Regions from separate parts of the Homo sapiens genome. Here regions 1 and 2 are each linked to region 3. The links are contacts of gene promoters, found by promoter capture Hi-C in blood cells and fetal thymus (Javierre and others, 2016). All regions are on one chromosome and are shown on one strand. The core of a region is centred on a gene start or on the middle of the fragment in contact, and the rest is flanking DNA. Distances in the headings are between cores, read along the strand shown.

Region 1 (2,700 bases), core at 33-2,532, 540 kb after region 3:
ATTAATGAAGATAACATTTGAATTCCCCAAAGCAGGTGAGGAGTCGGGGAGGAGAAAGCGATGTTAAAATGAAAACTCACTGCAAAAGAGGAGGCAGAGGAAGAAGGAATGTAAACCCCTTAAAGCAGATGTGTGTGGGGCCTTATGAAGACCAGGATTCTGCGGGTGTCAGGGGATTGCCCCTCTTGACAGAGACTAGGGTTTTAGACTGAGGCTTCCTGCAGGGTGTTCGCATTGCCCTTCTCCGTTCCCCTTCAGACCTTTCTGGGGAGAAGAGGTGGGAGGAGGGGAGAAAGACTGTTCATCTTATTCTGAATCCTGGAGCAGCTGAAGGTTTTCTCTTGAGTCAGGATGCAGTGGTAATGCATTAACCAGCAAGTGTGGCCAAGGATAATGAAAAAGTGGGAAAGGAAGGTCCTCCTCCTCCCTGATTGTAGCATCCAGCAGTCTCTGTAGCCAGGTTACTCAAGAACCACATTTGATTTCCTGGCCCTTTGCCTTGGCAGTGATGGCATTTTTATTTCACTGTGTTTTAAAGTCTTCATTTATTTTTATAACATGGGTTAGGGAGAAGGGCCACAAATGGAGGGATTGTCCTTTCAAGCACCACAGCTTCAGATAAAATTAGTACTTTCAAATATTGTCCACTTTAACTTAAAAAATTCTAGAGGGATTATATTGGAGACTCAACTGCCCTTGGTTTTAGTTTATAAAATGGCCTAGTACTGTGGAATTTTAATTTTAGAAAGTCTTAGCATCAGATCATAAACATTCATTAAAAGAACTCACATCCCATCTGAAACTTCCCAGGGGAGTTGGGATTCTTAGTAGATTGGTAGAAAGGGGCTCATTTTCTACTGCATTTCCCATTTTTGGTATCTTGTTCAGCATGTTTTATTTTTATTTCTTGTCTGCAGAACATCCTATATTTATGAGAACATTCTTTAAGAAGACCACCACATAGAATACCCCTTCCTATCAGCTCGCTCTGATTTAGCCTTAATTTTGTTAAATTTTTTAGAGATGAATGAAGTGCTGCTGTGGAAAGAAATGTACATATACTATTTCTGTATCATTAAAATTACATTTTTATGGTTCCTTTTCCTGGATTTCTTTGAGGGAAGGGTTTTGGGTTATGAGAAGGCTGGAATTGGGTCTCTACAACACTTTAAGTTTTTGCTGTGGTAAGATTTCTTTGAGGAAATGCTATACCTGGGCACACCTCTGTGTCTTGATCAAGCCTCTACCACCATTACAATTGCTTTAGAAAACCTCACACACTTACCCTGTTCTGGGAGATGTGCCAGCGGCATTATGATGCTGTGTGGCTTCTTGATCTAGCCAAGTAATTCTGACCTCTGATGCTTGTTAAAGCTCAGCTGCTCCAGCCTCCAAGCCACTCCAGCCAGAAGTTGTCCCCCGCTGCTTCATTCCATCATCTATAAACATGAACCCAACACTGTTGCCTAAGGAGTAGTGTGTCCCATTCTTTTTTCTTTTTTTTGAGATGGAGTCTCGCTCTGTCGCCCCAGTTGGAGTGCAGTGGTGTGATGTCGGCTCGCTGCAATCTCTGTCTTTCAGGTTCCAGCGATTCTCCTGCCTCAGCCTCCCAAGTAGCTGGAATTACAGGCGTGCACCACCATGCCTGGCTAATTTTTTTGTGTTTTTAGTAGAGACAGGGTTTCACCATGTTGACCAGGCTGGTCTCAAACTCCTGACCTCAAGTGATCTGCCTGCCTGGGCCTCCCAAAGTGCTGGGATTATAGGCGTGAGCCACCACACCTGGCCAGTAGTGTGTCCCATTCTACCACAGCTTCCACAGAGGCAGTTAAATATTTTACTTTTTTGTGATAACCAGAGGAATGGTCGCACGATGTACTGTGTATTGAAATTCCTACTTTAGTCTTCTTTTAGGTAACAGATCAACCTTCCTTGGAAATTATTTGGAGTTTAAGTCACTTAATGTGCCATGATAGGAAAGCTAGAATGGTCTGAGTTGGTAATACTGGTATTGACAATACATTGAAGAACATTTCTGTTTCAGAACCCCATGGGTGGATATGCGTGCTTATATCCAAACAATGCTGTTCTGACATCACTGATCTTCCTTGTCAGATTCAAGGGTTGGCACACTTTTTCATAGTCGCCACTCCTTGTGACTCTGTTTGGGTCTGTTACCGTGACGGCGACAGTACATACCTTGTGCCCATCTGCGGATCTGGACAGTTGTGAAAACAAGTCCTTGTCAGAAGAAAGCTGGCCTGGCCGAAGGAGGAGCCACTGGCCCTCCCCTAAGCCCCTTTTTCTGACTTGCTGAGGCATGTTCTTCCTCATTATCACCTCATTATCAAACTTCGAGCAGCAGTTCTCCATTCAATCCTGGTTGCATGTTGAATTCACACAGGGAGATTTTAAAGACGCCAGTGCCTGTGCACACCCCAGACCTATTGGAATCTCTGAAGATGGGGCCAGACAGTGGGTCCTTGTCAAAGCTCCTTATGCATTTCTGTTTCAGAACCCCATGGGTGGATATGCATGCTGATATCCAAACAATGCTGTTATGACATCACTGATCTTCCTTGTCAGATTCAAGGGTTGGCACACTTTTTCATAGTCCCCACTCCTTGTGACTGTGCAACCAGGATTGGGAACCAGTTGTCAGGAGGAATGGAGTTTTCTGAGGGAGACAGAATCAACTTG
Region 2 (2,700 bases), core at 121-2,620, 550 kb after region 3:
CAGATACAGCAAGGGCTAGGTTCTGACATGTGGTTACCTGGGAGGGAGGGAACAGGAGCCAGGGAGGATATAACAGGGAGTGCATCAGAGAGTTGAGAAGAGTCTGGTGGGTAAGGGCTGCAAGCTCAGGCTGCCTGAGAAGTCCCACAATCTGCCATCTGCAAGCCCTTTGGGCTTGGGCTGGAACTCTAGTTCCAGTGGCTCAGAGTGTACCCTCAGGGGCCCCATTCCTGCCCCTGAGGGTACACCATTCCCTCAAGGGCTGGAATGGGGTGGTCTGTGTCTCCAAGGAAGTTCTACCCCTTCTAGGAGAAGCAATAGAGATTGCGAACCATAGCCTTTTCCCTGTTTTGTGGGTCATAGAGTGGAGGTTGCAAACTCAAGGCCTGCCTGCATGAGGCTTGCAAAAACTTGTGAAAAGTTGCCAGCCATGGTGGTTAATTTCATGTACCAACTTGAGTGGGTTAGTGGGTCCCCAGATTAAACACTGCTTCTGGGTGTGTCTGTGAGGGTGTTCCAGGCAAGATTCGCATTTGCATCCGTGAACTCGCTTAAGCAATTGTGGGTGGGGGACATCCGATCCTTTGAGGGCCTGAATAGAATTTTAAAAAGAGAAAAATCCACCCCCACTTTTTTCTGGCCTCACAGCTTGAGCTGGGACATCTTGTTCTCATCTCCTGCCCTCAGACTGGGATTGACTCCACCTGCTCTCCCAGGACAGCCACTGGTGTAGTTCCAGTCCAAGCCCAAAGGGCTTGCAGATGGCAGACTGAGGGGCTCCTCGGGCTCCCTAATAGAAGGAGCCAGTTGCTCATAATAAACCCCTCTGTCTCTGTCTGTCTCTCTGTCTCTCCCACTCTCTCTCTGTATATGGAAACACACACATGTATATTCTATTGGTTCTGTTTCTCTGGAGAACTCTAATTAAATCAGTGTTTAAGAAAATGGAAGATTTCACACAAAATCTGGATCTTCAGCCTTTCTCGAAAAAACTGGAGGAGTTGGCACATCAGGCACTGTTATCTACAAGGGCACCCAGGGGCAGCAGAGGACCCCCACGATCAGCCCTGAGCTCTGCCATTCTCCGCAGTCCCCACCTGGCTGCTTGCTAGGGCCTGGACACCAGACATAATTAAGTTTGCAATCCTTAGCATAAAGGGAAGGCCATCGGGGTCCACGTATCCTGCCTCCCGGGCTGGTTCCTTCTGAGGGGTATCAGGGAAGGAACTGGTCCAGGCCTCTCTCCTGGGCTTGTGGATGGCTGTCTTCTCCCTGCATCTCTTTACGAGGCTTTCTGTCAATGCCTCTGTCTCTCTGTCCAAATGTTCCCTTTTTATAAGGACATCAGTCATATTGGATTAGGGCCCATCCTAATATGCTCATTCTAACTTGAGTACTTCTGTAAAGACCATATGTCTGAATAAGGTCACATCTAGGGGACTGGGGAATAGGACTCTAACATGTCTTTTTTTGGAGGGGAAACAAGTTAACCTATAACAGGTGGCTTTAGGAATCAACTTCATTTGTCCAAATGAATTATAGTTATTTCGCTTTCTCCTCCATGACATCGAACTCTGCTGACACCCTAGGTCAGGGATGACTTGTATATCACCGCTCTCACAGCAGACATCATTAACTGATCATCGAACTTTTGCATTGAGCCTGGCTGTGACCTCAGAATCCTTCTAAACACAGCTCTCCTGGTACCTACTACAAATCTGTTTATCGTGTCTGACCTGTGCCTTGCTCTGTTATGTGTTGCTTCTGTCTTGCTTGGTTCAATTCTGTTTCCTCTGCTTAGGAATGCTCTTAAAGCCCAATTCAGGTGTCTGCTTTCTCCCTTTGTATAGCCTTCCCTGATTATCCAAGCAAAGAATATCTCTCCTTCCATGTGCACCAATGCACTGGTTCTGAAATTGTCCCTGTAGGAAGGGCCCTCATTGGAAGAAAGAGACTTGGGGATGGGTTTGCATAAACTTTGCCCGGGAGTCAGAAAAGCCCAATTATTTACATTAAAGTAAGGGGGATGGGCTGGTGGAAATGGGAAGGAGGACCAACACCCCCAGCCCCTTATGCTCAGTACTTAGTACTCACCCTGCTTGTCTCATTCATTGCATCCTGAAAATTATCTGTGCAGAGAATGAGAATTTATGTCAACCTGAAAATGACAGCCTGCTTTCCCTTTGAAGGAGGGCTTCGGCCTATTCCTGGAGTGGTTTGAGGGGAGGGTGGATGTTCCCCAGATATATATAAATTACCCTCTCCTTCAGAGAGTGGAGATTTAGCAGTTGTGTTTTCCTAAGACAAGGCCTTCCCTGCTCTTAAGAAATGGGAAATTCAGTTTTTGGCTTTCTAATAACTTGAGCTCTGGGTTCTAGTATCACATGGAGATTTTTTCTGATTGGCTACTTAGCGGAAGGAGAAGAGGTAAACCAGGAGCGAGGAGCTGATCCCTCCAAGCCATTCTCCAAAAGTAGAGTCTGGGTGAGGTTCAACAGCAGCTTCCCCAAAGATATGTCCACTCTGAACCTCAGAAGTGGCCTTATCTGGAATAAGGATTTCTGCAGATGCGATTAAGACTAGGGCCTCAAGGTGATCTTATACCTGGATTAGGGCCCTAATGCTGATGACAAGTATCCTGATAAGAGACAGAAAAGAAGACACACAGGGCAGGTGTGGTGGCTCACACCTGTAATCCCA
Region 3 (2,700 bases), core at 60-2,559:
GTCTGTTCCTTCTCTGCTCTGGGACATTTGCTAGGGAGACATTTGCTGATAGGAGGGCGACCCTGATGGGGAGGATCCCCTGAGGTCTCCCACTCCCTCCTGTGGCCTCTGGAGCAGCCTGGAACCCTGTGTGAGTCCTATGCCTGTCTCCACCAGATGGCAGACCTTAGATCACCTGCTAGTTCCCTGCATGGGGCCTGGCACAGAGACAGCACCTAACATGTTCAGTTCCTCCTGATCAGTATGTGTGGGATGTCTACTCTGTGACCAGCTGGGGCTGGACGCTGGGGACACAGCTGTTGATATTACAGCTGCCCTCCCATCTCTGCCCTCCTCAAGGATATAACCTAGGAAAGACAGACCAGCAACCAGTGGTCACAGCACAGAGGTGCTGTGATGGAGGAAGGTGCAGGGGTTAGAAGACCAGAAGAGGGGTGTCTGACCCTGGATGTGGGAGGTGGAGGAGGTACACCATTGCTTTGAGGAGCTCGTAATCCCAGGATGCCAGTCACATGCTCAGAAGGGCTCCCTGAGGACCAGGTGCTGCTGTGGCCAGCGGGCTGGAGGCCTCCCCCTCTGTTTTGGGAGTCTCCACTCTCTCCTCTTAGCCTCTCCTGATCTGCTCCCTCGCCACTGAGCGCCCCATGATCCCAGTGGGGAAACTGAGGCCTGGCATAGCAGAAGGGGTGCTGGGGTTTGATTCCCAGCCTCATGGTGCCCAGGGATGTTGGGGGCTCTCCAGGGACTCTGATTTTGGAATAGGAGCCCCAAGGATGGGCCTGCCCCTGCCCTGCTCCCAGCATGGGAGCGTAGGTGAGATGGAGAGGCAGTGGGCTGGGCTGGAAGATCTTTGACCTCTCCTGGGCCCCTCTCAGAGGTGGACGGGGCCACCTTACTACATAGATAGGGAAATTGAGTCCCAGGAAGGCGCGGGGGGCCTGTCTGTGAGCGTCAGAGCCCACAGGAGGCTCAGGCCAGGCCGCTAATTGCTAATTGCTCACTAAGGATGCATTTGCTCCCCACTTTGAACAGTTGTCTTGGGGCTTCTAATGGAGGTTTTTGGTGCTTGTTTTATTATTATTTTTTCAAAATTGTTCCAGCTTCAAGCTTCAAATTTCCATGAAGTCATTGGAGCCCGACAGCTCCCAGGCCTGGCAGCTCCCAGGCTGCGGAGAGCAGCACTGTGGCTGGGGGAGGGGGCCCTGCACACCCCGAGAGGCTGGGCTGTGGGCTGTGCCTTAGCCTTGCTGCCGCCGCCGCCGCTGCTGCCGCTGCCGGAGCAGGAAGTGGTGGGTCCCAGATGTGACTCACTCTCATTAGGTAGCGTGGAAGGAGCCTTCGGATGGGTGAGCCTGGGCGCGTCTGAGGAAGGGCAGGCGGGGGCCGGGCCACCTCCCTGCAGACCCTGGCCGGCTGCTGGGGCCGGGGAGGAGAGCCAGGTAAAAGTGGGGTGTGGGGATGGAGTGTCACCAGTCCTAGTGGCTTGAGCCCCAGGGGACGGGGCTGGACAGTGGGTGGGAAGCAGCTCACCCGGCAGCCTGGCCTGGGAGTGCACTGGGCAGGGTCTGGGCTGGGGGAGTAGGAGGCTCCGTGAGCCTACTGGGCAGATGGCTGGGAGAGGCGGCCCTTCAACAGGGGACCAGAGGCGACTTGTCACTGGCTTTTCCCAGCCTGACAAGAAAGTGCGGTTGTGACCACAATGTTGTACATGTGGCCCGTTCCATCTGGAATTCTAGGAACCACAGACTCTCAAATGTCCACACTCCTTCTCGAGGGTGTAATTTTACATTTACAAGCACACATGACTTTTCTCAATGAAAGGAAACATTGGCAAGGGAAGGCCAATTCAACTAATTTTATGAAATTATAAAACAAAAAACAAACAAAACCTCTGAAAGGAGTGCATGCCTGAGGGTCAGGAAACCAAGATGCCTCCAAAAAGCAGACTGGTTTCCCTTTCCCTGCAATGCCTCTCCTCTATCCCCCAGGGACCGCATGGGCCATCTGGAGTGGGTCTTTCTGGAGCGGGTCTTTCTGGAGCTTTCTATGCATTCATCTAAACATGTATGTACAGAGGGTGAGGCAGTTGCCTCTTCTCTGTGTCATCACATCAGGGTCAAGGGCAGGGACATCTGTGGCTGGGGGCTTCCTCCCTGGACAGCCATTGCTGGAGAGGAGAAGGGAGGGCCGGGAGGGGGAAGCCAAGGGCCTGGAGGTAGGGGCCAGGCCGAGCCACCTACGACAGGGGCCCTGGGTCCAAGGCCTGGACGGGCAGCCAGTGTGGGCTGGATGTGTCTGGAAGGGCTATGTGACCGTGGGCCTTCACTAGCATCACCATCTTGCAGATGGAGGCTGTGAGGGGTGGACTCAACACCAGTGTTTCTCGGAGTGAGGACCGGGCTGCCCAGGGAATCACAGGGGGTTCTAGCCTGTGTGTGGAAGGACATGTTTAAAATCTAAGTATTTGTCTTGGGGAAAAAAAAATCTGTAAATAGGACATTGCCATTGTGACATCATGACTGTATTATTGTCTTAGACGAGGCCAAAGGAGACATAAAAGTGACAAGCCAGCCAATTTGAGAGGAAGTGCCAAGTGCCAGCCCTGCAGGAAGTGCAGGAGGCTGAGGGGGCTGCAGCTCAGGAAGGCGTTTGCTGCACAGCCTTCGCTTCCCACCCAGTTGTCTGTCTTCCCACCTCCAG

Evidence for each region. Contacts are between HindIII fragments. The CHiCAGO score rates a contact against its expected background, and 5 or more counts as called.
Region 1: a fragment that was not itself captured here is called in contact with the fragment with the promoter of ADCY7 in region 3 in 1 of 17 cell types (total CD4 T cells); the score reaches 5.1 in total CD4 T cells.
Region 2: a contact is called between a fragment that was not itself captured here and the fragment with the promoter of ADCY7 in region 3, in 6 of 17 cell types (naive CD4 T cells, naive CD8 T cells, total CD4 T cells and 3 more). The highest score is 8.3, in naive CD4 T cells.

The regions. Positions count from the first base shown.
Region 1 is chr16:50,800,838-50,803,537 of GRCh38, forward strand. CYLD (CYLD lysine 63 deubiquitinase) reads left to right here. Exons shown (of 19, transcript NM_001378743.1): 19 at 1-1,098. It overlaps CYLD-AS2 (CYLD antisense RNA 2), which reads right to left and starts at 2,508. Exons shown (of 3, transcript NR_187251.1): 1 at 2,200-2,508; 2 at 1,286-1,439. The HindIII fragment of the contact is 3,568 bases long and covers 1-2,700 here.
Region 2 is chr16:50,818,702-50,821,401 of GRCh38, forward strand. No RefSeq gene overlaps it. Among named protein-coding and RNA genes, the nearest start is that of LINC02168, 13 kb to the left of the region's middle. The HindIII fragment of the contact is 9,826 bases long and covers 1-2,700 here.
Region 3 is chr16:50,265,242-50,267,941 of GRCh38, forward strand. ADCY7 (adenylate cyclase 7) reads left to right here and starts at 1,310. Exons shown (of 26, transcript NM_001114.5): 1 at 1,310-1,439. RefSeq lists enhancers at 454-1,047, 993-1,082. The HindIII fragment of the contact is 14,845 bases long and covers 1,106-2,700 here.